Linked DNA regions of Homo sapiens: regions 1, 2 and 4 are each linked to region 3. Evidence: promoter capture Hi-C in 16 types of primary human blood cells and fetal thymus (Javierre and others, 2016). All regions are on one chromosome and are shown on one strand. Each heading gives the region's core, a stretch centred on a gene start or on the middle of the fragment in contact. The rest is flanking DNA. Distances are from core to core; before and after follow the strand shown.

The links. The method cuts DNA at HindIII sites, captures the fragments that hold promoters and counts their contacts. A CHiCAGO score of 5 or more calls a contact.
Region 1: a contact is called between a fragment that was not itself captured here and the fragment with the promoter of PIGN in region 3, in 15 of 17 cell types (megakaryocytes, erythroblasts, total B cells and 12 more). The highest score is 15.2, in megakaryocytes.
Region 2: a contact is called between a fragment that was not itself captured here and the fragment with the promoter of PIGN in region 3, in 1 of 17 cell types (naive CD4 T cells). The highest score is 5.7, in naive CD4 T cells.
Region 4: a contact is called between a fragment that was not itself captured here and the fragment with the promoter of PIGN in region 3, in 2 of 17 cell types (megakaryocytes and endothelial precursors). The highest score is 5.6, in megakaryocytes.

Annotation. Positions count from the first base shown.
Region 1 is chr18:62,574,321-62,579,228 of GRCh38, forward strand. ZCCHC2 (zinc finger CCHC-type containing 2) reads left to right here. Exons shown (of 14, transcript NM_017742.6): 13 at 1-1,230; 14 at 2,192-4,259. The coding sequence ends at 2,259. Among named protein-coding and RNA genes, the nearest start is that of ZCCHC2, 54 kb to the left of the region's middle. The HindIII fragment of the contact is 777 bases long and covers 2,987-3,763 here.
Region 2 is chr18:62,504,642-62,509,267 of GRCh38, forward strand. No RefSeq gene overlaps it. Among named protein-coding and RNA genes, the nearest start is that of ZCCHC2, 16 kb to the right of the region's middle. RefSeq lists an enhancer at 1,667-1,916. The HindIII fragment of the contact is 327 bases long and covers 3,146-3,472 here.
Region 3 is chr18:62,183,644-62,188,497 of GRCh38, forward strand. PIGN (phosphatidylinositol glycan anchor biosynthesis class N) reads right to left here and starts at 3,413. Exons shown (of 31, transcript NM_176787.5): 1 at 3,201-3,413. It overlaps RELCH (RAB11 binding and LisH domain, coiled-coil and HEAT repeat containing), which reads left to right and starts at 3,612. Exons shown (of 29, transcript NM_001346231.2): 1 at 3,612-4,388. The coding sequence starts at 3,863. RefSeq lists silencers at 2,915-3,127, 4,078-4,297 and an enhancer at 3,718-3,927. The HindIII fragment of the contact is 4,021 bases long and covers 1,387-4,854 here.
Region 4 is chr18:62,556,346-62,560,714 of GRCh38, forward strand. It overlaps ZCCHC2 (zinc finger CCHC-type containing 2), which reads left to right. Exons shown (of 14, transcript NM_017742.6): 7 at 2,342-2,425; 8 at 4,242-4,299. Among named protein-coding and RNA genes, the nearest start is that of ZCCHC2, 36 kb to the left of the region's middle. RefSeq lists a silencer at 2,157-2,256. The HindIII fragment of the contact is 1,636 bases long and covers 770-2,405 here.

The DNA.
Region 1 (4,908 bases), core at 2,125-4,624, 390 kb after region 3:
CCATAGGGATGCTTGTTCCTAGTCCTGTTGCTATTTCTGCAATAAGGGAGTCTGCAAATTCAACCCCTGTTGGAATACTAGGGCCAACAGCTTGCACTGGAGAATCGGAAAAGCACCTTGAGTTACTGGCTTCCCCTTTACCTATTCCATCAACCTTCCTTCCACACAGTAGTACTCCCGCTTTGCATCTTACAGTTCAGAGGCTAAAGTTGCCACCACCACAGGGATCTTCTGAGAGCTGCACAGTTAACATCCCACAACAACCACCCGGAAGCCTGAGCATCGCATCACCAAACACTGCCTTTATTCCTATCCATAACCCAGGTAGTTTCCCAGGCTCTCCTGTTGCTACCACGGACCCCATCACAAAATCTGCATCCCAAGTGGTAGGACTCAATCAAATGGTGCCTCAAATTGAGGGAAACACAGGGACAGTCCCTCAGCCTACCAATGTGAAGGTAGTTCTTCCAGCAGCTGGCCTCTCAGCTGCTCAGCCACCAGCTTCCTACCCCTTACCAGGCTCTCCCCTTGCTGCCGGCGTGTTACCCAGCCAGAACTCCAGTGTGCTCAGCACAGCAGCAACTTCTCCCCAGCCAGCGAGCGCAGGTATCAGCCAGGCCCAGGCAACTGTTCCTCCTGCAGTTCCTACCCACACCCCAGGCCCTGCCCCGAGCCCAAGCCCTGCCTTGACACACAGTACCGCGCAGAGTGACAGCACCTCTTACATCAGTGCTGTGGGGAACACGAACGCTAATGGGACAGTAGTGCCACCGCAGCAGATGGGCTCAGGTCCTTGTGGTTCTTGTGGGCGAAGGTGCAGCTGTGGGACCAATGGAAACCTTCAGCTAAATAGTTACTATTATCCTAATCCAATGCCTGGACCAATGTACCGAGTCCCTTCATTCTTTACTCTGCCATCCATTTGCAATGGCAGCTACCTCAACCAAGCACATCAGAGCAATGGAAACCAACTTCCTTTTTTTCTGCCTCAGACTCCATATGCAAATGGACTGGTACATGACCCAGTCATGGGGAGCCAAGCCAACTATGGCATGCAGCAGATGGCAGGATTTGGGAGATTCTATCCTGTATATCCAGCACCTAACGTAGTTGCCAACACCAGTGGTTCGGGGCCCAAGAAGAATGGGAATGTCTCATGTTACAATTGTGGTGTAAGCGGACACTATGCACAGGACTGTAAGCAGTCGTCCATGGAGGCCAATCAACAAGGTAATCACAATAACTCCCAGAGGACTTGTTTTTGAGTTCACTCATTTCTCCTTCCTTTCCTTATTGATCATGGGATTCTGTTGTAGCAGAAAGATCTGTTTGTGTTTTCGTTTATGGATATTGTTTTCAGTGACAGATCATAAAATGCAACTGGAAAAACAGTGTAGACCCAGGTCACACAGAGCACAAGGAAGTTCAGAGGAATTCAGTTTCCAATTAAGGAATAAACTCTAAAGGCCCTTTTGAAGGAGTGTGATGGGAATTTGCATTCTGTAATGTTAAATCTCTTGCTTGCAGCACTTTTTTTTTTTAAGCTACAATCCTGTTTCATAGAGTAAGCAAAATTTTTAAATATTGAAAACCTAGGAAGTAATTTAGTTATCTGACATTAGGTTTTGAGTAACTATTTAGTATATCTGCATAACCAGCTGCCTCATGCCTGTTTCCCCATGCTACCCTTTTCCTTCCCAGCAAATGTTAAAAAAAAAAAGGTCCAAGATTCTATTGCATTAATACAGGAACAAAATAGTTCAGTACTATTTTGATTTGAGAGTAAAGGAATTTGAACAAAGTTTAATATTACTACCACCAGAAAGAAGAAAATGGTCTTACCTATGTTTGAGTAAGATACCAAATTTTATGTCAACTTCAGGCTGTTATTTTCACTTGCATTTGACCTTTGTCGTTTTGCCAAATCTTACCCAGAAACAAAAAAAGTCTTAAATTGGGAATATATTTACTTGGCATTCTTAAAGAAAGATCAAGTTTGATAGCTTTTAGATTGAATTCAAAGCACAAACTTTACATTGCTTTTTAAAGTGAGCGGATTGGCCATTTGGAGTGGCACTAGAGCTGACGAAGGTGCCTTGTGGAGAGCATGCCCGTGTGATAGCTTGTACGTAGTGGTTTGTGATGACGTTTGCTTGTAAGCGGTGACTTAGTTCTGTCTTTCCCATTTTAGGCACTTACAGACTGAGATACGCACCTCCCCTCCCCCCTTCTAATGATACGTTGGATTCTGCAGACTGAAACGAGTAAAGCTTGCCTACTTAATACACTCAAGTGTGGGGAGTCATGGGGTGTGGAGGGGAGGAAAGGAAAGGTATTTTGTTTCTTTGTCTATACATTTCCTAGATTTCTATGCAGTTGGGATTTTTCATTTCTCTTGTACCAATGTCCAAAACAAGAAAGAATGCAATGCTTTTGAGCCTCTGGTCTCCTGGTTCAACAACAGGCTTATATGTATGATACATGTAATTTAAACCTTCAGACAAACTTAAATGTTGGTGCGTGCTTTTTTTTTTTTTTTTACACTGAATACTTGCTGTGTGCAATGTTTACTGAATCTTTAAAACTGTGTATTTGACCTTTTTTTTACAACACTGGTGACAGTCATATGGTTTTGAAAAAAAAAAGAAATTTTGCTTCTTCCCAGCTTTTCTCACTTTCACCCTAAACGACACTTCCTCCCCAGCCAGCCTCACTCTGTCTCCGGCCCGCAGCAGGAGCAGCCAGCAGTGCATTCACCCCACTTTTGTAAACTGCTCTGCATATAAACCAAGGGCAGAATGTTTCACCCTGATCTTATGGGAGGAATCAAACTCCCAAAATAGTGTGTATATATGTAATAAACAGCGTCACGTAAATACATATATGCAGTGCTTGTTGTCCAAATAGAAATGAAAATAAGTGGAAGAGAGAGGAAGAAGTCAAACCATATGAAACTGAAAAAATATGACGTACGAAATGGACAAAAAGCTTTTTCTGAAACCAACTTTTTACTTCCATCATCCTTTTTTAGCCTGTTGCTTCAGAGAGACACAAAGTGAACACACTGGTGTGAATGTCGCTCTCTGTGTGCTTGTGTTTGTAATGAAAGTCTACAGCCAATTTTACTTGTCTACCACCGTGTTGTGCTCAAAGAGACACTACTTGAGTGAAGATTTCTTCTTTCCCTGTACCAGCTGTTACAGTGTTACGTTGTGTTTAAAATGTGTATGGTTTATTGCAATCTGAACAGAGCTATGGGTTTCTACCATAAGTCAGGTTGTTTGTTCCCTAACCTGTCTCTCATAGCAAAGTCACTTTTATAACAGTTTACCACTATGCTTGATTATAATGTGAAAGGCGGAATTCTGAGTGTGTTAAGATGGTATTAATCATGTCGGTGTCATGTCACTAAGTTTAATGCTGCTGTTTTTAAAAAAAAAAAAAAGTTTTTTTAAAAAGCCAATCTATGTACTAAATTGCTTCCAGGTAATTTTTGATTTCCTAAAGTGCACTGAGGTTATCTGGAAGATTGGGTGTATTTTTTGGTGACTGCTGCATTCATCAGCAATGAACAGTTTCCACTGTATAGTCCTAGGGGTCAGGGGGTGGGGGTTTCATTTTCCATTCCTCAGCACAGAGCAGAAATGATAGATTTTTATTGTTTGGAGTAACGTTGGTATGCAGCAGAGGAACGTAAACATTTGGTCTTGGTTCAGAAGCCTAACAGATTGCTAGACAAGAGAAAAAACTTGAAGAAAAAAGAAGCTTAATTTCATGCTTCATAAGTAGCATTTATATTTATAGCACCAATGTACATTTTGAAACTTTCTTTCAGGGGTGGGAGTTATGGGGAAGGGGTGGGTGTGAAGGGGTAGATGAAAGCTTTAATTTAGAAAGAAAGTTCAAGTAAAGGAAATTATTTTGATTAAATATATTTTATTTGATCTGGGTATTTTTGGACCACATTATTAAATTAATTGTTAAGCTGCAGTTGAGTTGTTCAAGTGAGAGTTTTGATAAGCCACTTATGGGCCGCGTTGTGAATCACTTGCCAGTTGTACTTTATGGAGCTTATTTTATGATTTAAAATACTGTACTGTACATAGGAGGTATGTTACCTTCTCCTTATTTGTATGTTTACCATATACTTTGATATTTGAAATGTTATGTACTGGAAAGGCCACTTATATTTCTAGAACAGATTGGATTTTATGCAACCTTTTTTCCTTGAATTAACAGCAATAAAAAAATGAAAAACAGCTTAAGAATTGTGCCTCATTGTAAATTTTGTAAAAGTGGAGATAGGACATCATACATGGCGATTTTTTTAAAGTTTTATTTAGGTATGTAATTATTTTGGGGTTAAGGATCAATCCATTTCCCTGCAGGGTGGGCAGTGAATCCCAAAGTTATTTACCATCTGGATGCTCCTCAGTTCTTCCCCCAAATAACCTTTTTGTTTTTGAGACGGGGTCTTGCTCTGTCGCCCAGGTTGGAGTGCAGTGGCGGGATCTCAGCTCCCTGCAACCTCTGCCTCCCTGGATTCAAGCGATTCTCCTGCCTCCGCCTCCTGAGTAGCTGGGATTACAGGTATGTACCATGACACCCAGCTAATTTTTGTATTTTTAGTAGAAACGGGGTTTCACCATGTTGGCCAGGCTGGTCTTGAACTCCTGACATCAAGTGATCTGCCTGCCTCTGCCTCCCAAAGTGGTGGGATTACAGGCATGAGCCTCCATGCCCGGCCTCCCAAGTAACTTTATATAGAGGTAATCTGCGTGACCACTAGAGAAAGGGGGACTGCACTCCGTGAGTTTTGAGTACTCGGCTGCGTGCCAAACACTATGGTAGCAATGAGGCAGAGTCCTTGTCAACCTTGAGCTCGTATTTCCAGTTTAGGCCTTTAGC
Region 2 (4,626 bases), core at 2,059-4,558, 320 kb after region 3:
TGATCCGCCCGCCTCGGCCTCCCAAAGTGGTGGGATTACAGGCATGAACGACTGTGCCTGGCCAATTTCAACATGAGGTTTGGAGAGGACAAATATCCAAACTACATCAACTGTGTTACAGAAGATTCTGCCCGTCTGTAGACTAATGTAAATGTTCTTAGCATGGTTTAAGGCAGGCTAGGCTAAGCTCTGATGCTTGGTAGGTTAGGTGTATTAAATGCATTTTCGACTCATCATCAAAATCTGAAACTTTTTGAATGCTGATATGATGCCACAAGTGGTAAATTCCACACAAAAATACTTATCACAAACTTTGTTTCGTGCACAAAACTATTTAAAATATTGTAAAAAGCTACCTTCAGGTTTTAGTTAATTTTATGTTGAGTGAACTTTACATCAATAAAATAGAATAAATTTTAAAATGACAACAACCACCAGACTCTTGACCCTCTCTCAGGTACCACACTTGAGCCCAGGACCTCTGTGGAGCTGCCTCCATGGGAATCAACCACAGTCCCCAAGAACATCCAGGTTAGTCCTTCATGGCTAAGCCAGTCCTGAGGGGCCAGGAAGCAGTCTATTCCCATTCTACCGTTTATTGAGGCTTGGGAAGTGTCACACATCCCAGAGCAGTTTCTGATCACCCTGTGTCACAACCCCTCCCCTCCAGCCCTCTGTTCAGCAGATCTTGGATGTTGTACCCTGCACTGGCTACATAATTTGCAGAGCCTGTATGAAATGAAATTGTGGGGATGTCTCTTAACAAAATTAAGAATTTCACCATGACGCCAGGACAGTGGCTCACATCTGTAATCCCAGCATACTGGGAGGCCAGGGTGGGAGGTTCGCTTGAGCTCAGGAGTTTGAGACCAGGCCGGGCAACACAGTGAGGCCCTATCTCTACAAAGAAGAGAAGAAACAACTTAGCCAAGCGTGGTGGGGCACGCCTGTGGTCCCAGCTACTAAAGAAGTTGAGGTGGGAGGACTACTGGAGGTTGAGGTGGCAGTGAGCTGTATTTGCACCATTGTACTCCAGCCTGGGCATCAGAGTGAAACCTTTTCTCAAAAAAAAAAAAAAGAAAAGAAAAAATATCAAGAAGGTGTTGGCAGAACATTTAGGGCCCTTCTGAGCTCAGGGTCCTGTCTGCATGGGTCCCCTGCCCTGGTGGTGTCCCGTCCCTGTCTCCTGTCCCCGCTCCATGGCTGCTTTATCACACTATGGAGTCCCACTCTGAGGATGACGATTGCTTGTACCCTGTCTGAGCCACCTTGGGCCACTCAGCTGTCCTCACAGAGCCTCCTTCTGAAGCCAGATTGGTTGAATATCCTCCTGTCTTCTCTCATGGCCTCTTGCACATGACCTGGGAGTCAGTTTGCCTGCACCCACAATGGGCTCTGCAGTATGTCTGGCTGCTGCGAGAGCTCACTTACACCAACAAGGTAAGCATGGTAGCCCCAAGGCCCTGGTCCAGTGGAGGAGCCAAGATCTGATGACCTCCAAGACCCCCTCAAGCCCTGAAGTTCTGTATTTAATTGAGGCTGGCATGTACTGTTACACCTATTTTCACAGATGAGTAAACTGAGACTCAGAGAACGTCAGTGGCTGCAGCAAGGTCATGCAGCTCACACTGCTGGTTAAGAGTTTCTTTCAAGTGTAACGTAGGAAAATGTACAACATTTATTGGTTTTACTTTTGATAATACTGGCTCATATATAGTTACCTGCTAGGTCTCTGTTAAGATCGAGACTTTTTTTTTTTTTAAATAGCTTTGCTGGCTAAGTTTCAGTTTCGTTTCATTTTCCTCCTATCACTTAAGTTTCAGTTCTGTTTCTCAGGATATTCTCTTTCCCTTTTTACTAGTATTATCTGATTCTGTTTGTTAGAATTGTTCCTTGGTGCCCTTTAACCTGATTAAAATGAACAGTTATTCTAAGGTAGATATTCCCAAGCAGGAATTTTAAACAGAGGTAAACCTTAGTACCTTGCCAATTTATTCCAGCATTGGCAAAATGTATCTGCTGTAGTAGAGCATAAATTTGTCCAATCGCTGCCTGAGTACCTATGTGTTCGTGGCTTGATTTACCTTATCTGTAATTCCTGGATGTTAAAAGGACACCAAAAATCTCTGACACCCTGATTAGCCTACCTTGAAGAACCCAAGCCCAGGATTTCTGCCTTTGCCTAGAAAAAGGACTGATTCAGAACTTCCTGAGCTACCTAGTATTCTGGCCATAAAGTGGAGGAAAGGAATCTATAATCCCATTTTCTTCTTTTCATTCATAGCTTATTCTCAGTTCTGCAAAAATCCAAACTGCCCCAGGGCTCATGGGACAACATAAACTAGAAAGTTTGTGGGAAAGATTTAAACTGGCCACCAAGTGGTTAGACACTCGCCAGACCTGACGGCACTTGGCGGGGTTGGGGGCAGGGGCGGGGGTGGGGAAGATCCAACAATTTGGACAATCACATACTTCAGACACGAAATCACTAAAATGTTTAAACTCTAAAAACTGTCTACTTGAAATTTAAATCCTTGATGCCTCCTCCATATTTGAAATTATATTCTTTTTTATTCAGAAATTATGCCCAATTTTGATGATTTGGAAAACAGAAAAAAAGTAGAAAGAAAAAGACAAAAATCTAAATGGCAATCCAGGCACTAAAACTCATCTTAGCATTTTGGTATATTCCCTCTCATTTCTTCTTTCTACTCATATTTTTGTGTATCATTTTGACTATGTCATATATACAATTTTATATGCTGATTGTTTCCACTTATTGTATTTCCCTGTGTTGATACAAATTTTACCAACTATATTTTTACTAGATACATATTCTCTCATACATATATAAAAATATATATTATATAACTATATATAAATTATAAATTTATATTATATATTTAAATTTAAATTATACATGTTATATAAAACATATAATTTTATATATACATGAGAGAATATTACATATCTAGTAAAAATGTAGTTAGTAAAATTTGTATCAACACAGGGAAATACAAGTGGAAACAATCAGCATATAAAATATTGTGTGTGTATGTATACGTATATATAATGTATTTGCTCATTCACTTTTTTGGGAACAACAATATTACTGATATCCTATTATAAACATGTTTACATACAAAGCTTTTTATTTTTCTGCTTTAGGATTGTTTCCTTAAGTTAAACTCCCCAAAATAGGTGCACTAAAAGGTATGAAAAGTTTTAAGATTCTTGATACATATTGTTAGGTTACTTTACAAGATAGTTGTAACAGTTTACTTTCTAAAAAGGCTGTTTAATGTAAACATTTCTGGTAAAATCACTACTTAAAGTTGTGTGAAGCCAATACTCTGTTAAAAGCAGCCTGTCACACATCTAATTTGTACCAAAAGAAGTCCTTTATTTTACTAATGCCTCTGCAAGGTTTATAGCAGTTCACCAATATGACCACATTTGGACTTTAAAACCAAGCTTTAATCAGTAATGTATTTGACACACAGGCATAAAGAGAAGTATATATATAATGTGGTCCATATCCCGTAGAATAGACAAGAATTCCACATAGAAAGAGTTGCTGGGGAAATCTGGTTGCTGAACTAGGTGGTAAGTGCTACAGTAGTTCAGAGGGAGATGGCACCCGTATGGACTGAAATGGTTGGGGAAGACAGGTTATTGTCTTCTGGAAGTGGTGGAACCTGACAATGAAGAATGGTGGGCCTTAGACACACAGAAGGCTGAGAAGAGCCTTCTAGACCAGGAGAACAGCATTCACAAGGATGTTTATCATAGCGTTGGAAAATGAGGTGACTGGACTAAAATTTCCAATTGTTATGGACTATATTTGTACCCTAAATTCTGATGTGATGAGTATCACTTGAGGCTAGGAGTTGAGGCCAGCCTGGGCAACATAGAGAGACCCCCATCTCTAGAAAATAATAAAATAAAATAAAATAAATAATAAATTCCGATGTGCCATTTCCTGATTTGCATTCAAATAACTCAGTCCTAGGCCAGGAGTGATGGCTCATACCTGTAAGCCCAGCACTTTGGGAGGCCAAGGTGGCCATGAGTTTGAGACCAGCCCGGCCAACATGGTGAAACCCCGTATCTACTAAGAATACAAACATTAGTTGGGCATGGTGGCGCGTGCCTGTAATCCCAGCTACTTGGGAGGCTGAGGCAGGAGAATTGCTTTAACCAGTGAGCCAAGATCGCACCACTGCACTCCAGCCTGGGCAACAGAGCAAGACTCTGTCTCAAAAGAAAAAAAGAAAAGAACTATTTGTGTCTTGCATACCTAAGTATATTTAAAGAAAATTTACAAATATAATCATATAAATTCAGCTTTTTCTTGAACCCTTACTATGTAGAAGTCACCCTGCTAAATTTTATAAGGAATACAAGAAACAATAAGGAGAAGGATGTACCCCCAAGTAAATCACAATTTAACCGAGAAAATATGATATACTTGTGCATCTCTGCACGATGGGAATATGTTCTGAGAAGTGCATCATTACGTGACTTCACTGTTGTGCAAACATCATAGAGTATACTTATACAAACCTAGGTTAACTGAAACATTGTTATACAGTGCATGACTGCATAGAAACACATATCTACCAG
Region 3 (4,854 bases), core at 2,163-4,662:
ACAATTCCATGACAGCAGGACGGGGCATCTCCAACACCCATCAGAGTCTTATGCACTTAGTAAGGACTCAAATGTTTGCTGAATAAATTATTTAGAATTATCATTTCAAGGGTAAATGCAATATGCACTACAGCCACTAGAGGATGCCCTGCTTCTGTTTTTGTTCCTCCAGAACAAGATGTGAAGACTGAAAATACTTTAAAAAAAAAAAAACTAAACCTTTTATGATAAAGTAATTTACTATTAATGTAAATAAAATTGCAGTTATTACAAAATATCAGCATTCACTAACTACTTATTTTAATTAGTTTAATTGCTTAATACTAAATATTACTTAATACTTCTCTTTAAAGAAAATCACAATTTATTCAGATTTATTGAAAAAGAAATACCTCCAAAACAAACACATAACTATTAAAATTTTAAAAAGATATATGCATGTACCAATACAAGTTATCTAGTTTATCTGTGGATGTTTACCACACACTGAAAAACAATAAAACATGAGGTATTACTAAAACCTCAAGTCAACCAAAACTTGCATTCAGAATATTACTTGTGGTTCTTTTAAGACTATTAAAACCTAAAATAATTTTTTAAATACTAAAATGATTGACGTGCTTTGAAAAAAGGCATCTTTTACATCTTCATTGCTAAGGCACAAGCTTTAATAACTATCATTAGTCAGATGAAACATTAGTTGTAAGGGCCTAGATTAATGAAAATCTTACTAAGTAGAAAGGAAATTTCCCAACACTATTAATAATACATTATTATAAGTAGTGATCGGTAATTTTTAATATTCCAGTGTGTGTTACTTATACATTATTCACGAATAACCAAACCTCTGTGTATTGTGGAAAAGAAAAGTACATACTGGGAAGACTGGGCAGTTGATTTCTAATGGGCTTACAAGATCAAACACACAAGTTCATGGTTATAGGATAGGAGGCAGAAATAGAAGCAGAAAACCACAGATTTGTATGGGAAGAATTCCTCTACATGCAAGTTCTTACAACTCTGAGGAAACATTTTAAATCTATTTTCAACTTGTGTTTTAGAACTGAGACCCCAAATTAAAGATACTCCCTTCAGCCCTACTGACTTAATTGCTTTTTCAGGCTTGCACTGCCAAAACGATTGATATTAGTTTTATTTTTAAACACTTGTCAAATGTTCTCAACACATACTAATATTTCAATAATTAATAAGTGACCACAGTAATAGTTATTGTGTAGCAGGTACCAGGCACTGGGACAAGAACATTCTCAATTCTGTGTACTTTCCTTATCCCCTTTGATAGACGAATGCAAGTGAGGCTGAGAAGTTAGGTAACTTTTTCAAGGTCTCACAATAAATAATGAGTAGAATTGGGATCTGAACTTAAGCTTTTCTATCTTATAAGCATAATCCTCTTCAGGAATCCTAAATGCAGGAGATTTCTCAATTTCCCAATCATGGAGATGGAAATATTGTATATAAACAATCCATTTCTAATCATGCCCTTCCCATGCCATTCACTAATCCTCCATTCCTGGATTCCAGAAATTGGTTCCATTTTAATCTCTCTGGAAAATCCAACTAAAATACGGATCAGCAATCCCTTTTGCTAAGAAATCTCTAACAGGATACAGTATTTGCCATTTCAATTCTATTTGGGGGGATTTTTTTCCCCATGTTTTACTTTTAATATATGGCACAGAAAACTATTTATCATTAAAACATTGGGAACTAATGTCCTATAAAAAAATAGTTTAAATTCTTGGTACTTTTTTTTTAAACTTCTAGCAAAAATAAAATTTTAAAAACCCAAATCCCCATTCAAATGAAAATTTTAGTTTATTGAGCCTGGGTATATTGAAATTAAAGCCTACTCTTAACTGTTGGCATACTTTTACATGTAAACCAATAACCTGACCTAAGGTTATGTAAGAATCGTCTATTTTAATTTTTCCATGGAGCTAACGGGAGATACTTTACTGTGGAATGTTTACTACACACTGAATGTAATATGTCACTTACCTGTACACTAAGAAAGGAAATCTAAAGCCTGGAAAAGTGGTCATTTGTGTGTGAAAAAAATAGGAGCCATAAGAAATAGCAGTCTAATTGTATTGACTGGAAATTCCTTTACCTTTTCAGATCATAATCAAGGAATGACATAAAAGATAAACGTTGATCTTCTAAACTTAGGATATGTACTTTATATGCTAACATTTCATCAAAAAAATCAAAACTCTCTGAAGCATTCAACTTTTAAAATAGTTCTAAGTTCCAAAACCTTGATTCTAGCCTGCATGAACGAGTCAGAAATGTTGCAGGAGACAGTGGATAAAGAATCGTTTGGGACATAAGAGAAATGATGTTAATTCCTTTGACTCCTTATTAGCGGAATTGATTTTTTTTTTTTTTTTTTTTTTTTTTTGAGACGGAGTCTCGTTCTGTCGCCCAGGCTGGAGTGCAGTGGCGCGACCTCGGCTCACTGCAATCTTCGCCTCCGGGGTTCAAGCGATTCTCCTGCCTCAGCCTCCTGAGTAGCTGGGATTGCAGGCTTGCGCCACCACGCCCAACTAATTTTTGTGTTTTTAGTAGAGAAGGGGTTTCACCATGTTGGTCAGGCTGGTCTCGAACTCCCGACCTCGTGATCCGCCCGGCTCGGCCTCCCAAAGTGCTGGGATTACAGGCGTGAGCCACCGCGCCCGGCGTGGAGCTGATTTTATAACAACCACTCTTGGCTTAAGTTTACTTATCTGTCTACTGGTGAGACAGCATTAGATATTCTGAAGGGTCCCTGTTGTGTAAATCGTGTATTAAATCCTAAGCGTTTATTGAGTACCTAACAATTTGTTTTCCAACTCGACGATGTTCCCAGATCCAGGCAAATGCCAACCTCAGCGTTCCCTTTTCCGTTTAGTCTCTCCAGCCCCCGTCCCCACCCACAGGCAGGACCACCTCCGGGGCTGAGAAGTCGTGCTGTCGCTAGGCCTCCCGAGTGTGCAAGCATGTGGCAGAGAAGGGAAAAGAAAGGAAGTCACATTCCGACTACAGGCCTGGGCACTTGCTATCCATGGGGACAAAATGTCACCACTGGCAGCAAATAGCGAGAAAAAGTGCAGCGCAGTAGGGAAACAGCGCGTCCGCGGGCGCGACACCACAGTTTGGGCGCCGACACCCTCCGCGCACTGGTCCCTGAACTTTACCTGGAGCTTATCCCGGTCAGGCCTGATCTCGAAAACGAGGGCTCCTCAGCGCGAAGGCAGGACCCAGCTCCATTAAAGCTCTCGGGCAGTGGTCCCCTCTACCCACTGAAGCGATAGCCGGGAGGGTATTCCTAAGCCACCACTACAACCACCCCTCAATTCCGGAACGCCCCCAATACCTGCCCGGCCGCTGCTGCTATCGCGATAATTCTCGGGCCAGTCTCCCGTCAGTCCGCTCCACGCCTTCCTTCTCTGACCAATCATGGAGGAGTCGTGGGTGGAGTTTTGCTTTTGAGCGGAGAGCGGGGCCTTCAATCTTTGCTATCTGGCGCTGGGAATGGGCGGAGCTGAAGTGGGCTGGGGCGGGGCTGGGGCGGGGCTAGATCGGGGAGAGGGGCAGGGGCACGCTCCAGTTCTCGCGAGACTGGAGACCAGGAAGACGCCTGCAGAGCCGGGCTGCTGGTGCAGCAGAGGCTGAGGCATCAGGTGCAGCTGCATCCGGATCTCCTGCCTTGGAGCGTACTCCTTGTCTCTAAGTCGGGAGGCAGGACGTGGTCAGGCCGGGGCTGTGGAGGTGCGCTGTGTCCCCTGAGGCCTAGAGGATTCGGGCTGCGGCCCGTCGGAACCAGTCAGGGAGGCGCCCACACTCCTGACAGGATAAGATGGCGGCGATGGCGCCTGGAGGTAGTGGCAGTGGTGGCGGCGTGAATCCATTTCTCAGTGATTCGGATGAGGACGATGACGAGGTAGCTGCAACAGAGGAACGGCGGGCAGTACTTCGGCTGGGCGCCGGAAGTGGCCTAGATCCTGGCTCTGCGGGCTCGCTGTCGCCACAGGATCCCGTGGCCTTAGGAAGCAGTGCGCGGCCAGGGCTCCCTGGGGAGGCGTCGGCGGCTGCAGTGGCCCTGGGGGGCACCGGGGAGACCCCGGCCCGATTATCAATTGATGCGATCGCTGCTCAGCTGTTGCGCGATCAATACTTGCTGACCGCCCTGGAGCTGCATACCGAGCTGTTAGAGAGTGGCCGGGAGCTGCCTCGGCTGCGCGACTACTTCTCCAATCCAGGCAACTTCGAGAGGCAAAGTGGAACCCCGCCGGGGATGGGGGCGCCAGGGGTCCCTGGAGCAGCCGGCGTTGGGGGCGCTGGAGGTCGGGAACCGAGTACAGCGTCGGGCGGGGGACAGCTCAGTAAGTGGACGCAGCCTGTCACACTCCGGCAGGGTATTTGGGATTGTACGGAGTTACTGTAGGGGAGAGGGGGTATTTCTGCGTGGGTCCCGATAGGGACATTTTAAGGAACGAGAGTATTGGGGTGGGGGCGCTCTTTTGCGGTGGAAGCAAGAGGATCAGGCAATGACTGTTCTCTCTGCCTGCTTCCAACCCTTGGCTGGTGTTGCACTTGGCTCCTGGCTCCCCTACTGGTGTCAGTATCTATAAAATATCAAGAGTTTCTAGTTCACTGGCTATTACGGGACTCCAGAAGGTTCCCTTTTATACTAGTTTATTGCTTTAAGCATTTTCCTTTTTCTCCAGTTACCTGAATCACACTACCAGGAAATAGTGTTACCTGAATTGCCTGCAGTAGTTCTTTGAGTCTGAGCCAGGAGAGAAAGAATAGGACACACTGCTGCTGTCTCCGAAAAGTCAGATGTAC
Region 4 (4,369 bases), core at 338-2,837, 370 kb after region 3:
TTATTGCTTTACTGTGTCATTTTGTGTAGGTTTGTCACTTTAGTTAAAGTTAAGGAATAGTGACATACATTTTTAATGTCATTTTTAATGAGTTTTTACACTGCAGTTTTAAAGAAGGTCATGAATAAAAGCTAATATAACAGAGCAGACTGATTCCAAGGTAAGGCCTGAGTCTCTCTAGTCTTTGGGGCATGGCCAGTCCTTCATTTCCTGGGCAGGAACTGTTCCCTCACAGGCTGGAGACCTTACAGTGCCACGTGCTGGTGTATGATCTAGTCTGTCTTCCTCCTGTCACCTGTTCCCAATTGACCTTTCCAGCCGATCAGACAGAAAATGTTAGCCCTGTTCTTCTCACTCTGCCTCTTTGTTTTCATCACGGAAAGGACAACCCATACTAGACAAAGGATGTCTTCCTTTATGTCCCTTCGTCACCATCCCTTTGTTTACAGTTAGGCCTTTCTTTCATGCACGGACTATTAAAGGTAAACCCTCACTCTTTTCTCAGATTCTAGTTTCCCACTCTGATCTATCCCTGGATTATCACAAGGATAAATGTGTTAAATTCCTGCTTGGTCTGAAATTCAGGCCTCACTGTGACCTTCCGGGAGCTTCCTTCTGCTCCCTGTGCTCTGTCTCCTAGCATGCCCAGCTGTTGCCTGCCCTGTGTCTTTGCTCATTTGTACCCTTACTTAAACATACATCCTTTTGTCATAGCCCATTAAAATCACACCTGTTTTAAGGCCCAGCTGAAACATCACCTCTTCCACGAAGCTTTGCCAGTTTTTCTTATGTTCCGTATGTTGAGTTTTGCCCTCTTATTTCACCTTTCACCACTGTCTGCCTTGTGTTTAATTTTCTACACATCTACCTCAGCCTGCCTTTTACAAATATTTTGTCAGTAACATTGGCGTGTCCTTTAGCAGAATTTCTGCTGAACTTCAGGCATAGCTATGGCAAGGAACATTTTTCTTTTTTAAAACTGTCCCTCTGCTCTCAAGAGAGTCATTTTTTCCTGTATTTAAAGGGGAAAGAAAAACACATATTTCCTCAATTTGAGGTGTGAGAAAAAGAGGTGCAAGAATAGTATGATTGTTACACGGGCTAACCTTTAAAGTTTCTCTAATTAAGTGTGTTAATGCTAACGTAATTATCAATCCGAATTAAAAATATGACTCTTTGTGATTAGTTGACCAAGACAAAATGTACAACTTCATGATTAAATTTATGTCTGAATGATAACAACAGCATTTATTAAAGAGAATCCTGATCATTCTGTAGCTATGTAGATTTAACCATCAGTGCTTTCCCCCTGCGCCAAATGTGTTTTTTATTGAACATGTATCAATAGCATCAGTTTAGTTTCAAAAAGGCATTGAATTGAGCACAAAGTTAAACTTTTAGTTCAGATGAACAGGCTGCTCAGGAAAACTCACCCAAGTGAGGAGTTCATATATAAGTAATAAACTCATCTTGAGGGTGTGGCAGTATTTAAATTACATGAGCAGTGCTAAAGAGGTTGGTGGATTTTGTTTTTAGGTTGTAAAATTAAAACACTGTATGAAAGTACAGAACTTGAGATTGTGGGAAATCTTGTCAGCCTAACGTTCTTACATATCTGAGTTGTTTCACTAGTGAATATACTGTTGTCAGGGTTCATTTGCATACACTGTTGGGTTTTTTTTTTTTAATTGATAGCTTTATCTTTTTATTCTCTGGTACAGAGAGCATCACTCCATATCCTGAAAACTAGCGCTGAAAAAAAATAATGCTAAAGTCCTGAATGAGTTAAGATGTTGAACTGTGGAGTCCTGCTGGCCTGTATTTTAATGGGGAAGTAATCCAAAATGTGTTGCATGGGCCAGTGCTGGTCCATAAATTGCTTGTTACTGTTCTGTAACACGAGAACAGAAATTGAGAGCAGACACTGAGAGATTAACAATTTGACAGTGCCACGTTATTTTATTGTATTTTACAAAAGTAACGATCCACAGCAAACTGAAGATTTAAAAAAATGAAAACTGAATCTTTACCACACCACAGATGTTTAAGAAGCACCTTTCTACTTTATTTCCTCATTTTGCACATGAGCACACTGGGGCTGACAGATATGAAATGACTTGTCCAGGTCAGTCGCTCTTCAGGGAACAGCTGGCCTCTTGAACACGGTTCCCACTCACAGTCTAGTGCTTTGGGCTGTGTCATCTTGCCTTCTCACTAGTAGCCATGTTTTCTTCACCACTCACCCTCCATTCATTTTCCTTAGGTAAAAAAACAATTATTATATTTGTTTTCTTTATTTTAATTTTCCTAAAAAGTTAATAGTATTGAATGCTTCCTGCAGATAACTTACAATCCTCTCTGAAGACTTCTAAGATATTAGAACACTTAAAAGAAGACAGCTCTGAAGCTTCAAGTCAAGAAGAAGGTAAAGGTAGATTCACTAGAGTAAATCATTCTGCCTGCTGATAGCACATGGATAGAACATTTAAGGAGTGAAGAAACTGACATATAGGAATTGGAATGTGACAGAGGTTGCATTACAAATAAGTGGAGAAGGAATAGACCATTCAATAAATGGTGTGTGGAGAAAGAATAAATTGTTCAATAAATGGTGTGTGGACAAAGAATAGACCGTTCAATAAATGGTGTTGGCACAATTGATTTTCCATATGAAAAAATAGGTATAATTAGATTCCCAGTTACATCATGCAGAAGACATTCAAGTGAATAACAACTTATATGTAAAATGTAAAACTTAAACTTTTCAATGTTAATTTGGGAGGAGAAGCCTTTCTTGAATAAAGTAGAGCATGACCACGGTAGAGATCTTAATAAATTAGAGCTTCTCTGTGACAAAAGGAACCATATAGCCAGGAGACCATCCATAGATTGAGAGATGGTGTTTGCAAGATATTTACAGATAAGACTATATCCAGACTATGGAAGGATCTTCCTAAAAAGTCAATGAGACAATCATCCCAACAGAAATATAGGTGAAAGACATAAATAGGTGATTCTGAGATGAGGAAACCTGAACAGCTATTACATAATGTGCAGCCTCACTGGTAGTCAGGAAAATGCAAATGGAAACAGGTGTCATCTCACACTCAGCAGATTGACAAAACATTTTGGAGTCTGACATCAAGGATATGAAGCAGTGGGAACTCTCAGGCACTGCTGATGGGGATATAAATTGACAGAACTATTTTGGACGAAATTTGGTGCTGTGTAGTGAAGTTGGAGATAATTATATGCTGCTGTCCAGCAATCCTGCATCTATGAGAATTGTTACACACCTGCAAAAGGGGACATGGGCCCGGGTCCTTGAGGCAGCATTGTTTGCAAGGGCAAATACCAGGAAATTGCCTGAACATTTCAAATGTTAGTAATGTTATAAATAAATAATGTCTTTGTACTAGGTAGCAATTAAAATAAAGGATATTTATAGTACAATTGGCTCTCCATCTCTGCATTGGTGGGTTTAACCAACTGTGAGCTGAAAGTATTTGGGGGAAAAAATTCTTTTTCTTGTCATTCTCTAAACAATACAGCATAACAACTATTTGCATAGCATTTACATTGTACTAGGTATTATAAGTAATCTAGAGATGATTTAAAATATACAGGAGGATGTGCATAGATTACATGCAAATACTGAAGGACAGTTGTATATTGAAACATGTAACAGCTAATGTGTTTATGAGCACACATATATGGATAGTTAAAACTTGCACTAGAATGTTTCAACAAGTAAGCTACTAGTTAGCCTCTAGAGGGATGAGGGGGAGTGGAATGGAGGGAAGACCTTCAGTCATTCCTGTGATATTCTGTTTCTTAAAAGAGGCAAATATGGAGCAGTCTGGAGGGTGGTGTACATGGATGTTTGTTATATTAATAGATACAGGTTTGAATGTTTGAAACTCTTCATTTTTTAATGGTTAAAAAGTTCTATCTGAAATTGGATGTTTTAGTTTTGTAGGGACATGCTCATATAGACTTTCATAGTTTTGAACAAGATTGATTTGCTGTTAGGTGGAAGACATTTGAGAGAACATAAAAGGTAATTCAGAGTTTACTGTGTTTTTGAAAAATTGCTTAAGATGTCTTCTATGTTGAGAAATGCTTAGAAGTGCTTCATACCATCTGTCACCAGTGGTTATGATCATACAAACTAGTAGCATCCTACTGTTGGTTTTTGCTGCAGCATTTAGTGTAATAAGTTACTTTTTCCTCTCTTCTAGATGTGTTGCAGCATGCCATAATCCACAAGAAGCATACTGGGAAAAGTCCCATTGTGAAGTAAGTATCCTCTTTCTAAAACAAAAAGTGCTTTGGTATGTTTTAAAATCAATGTAACATTTAATTAAAT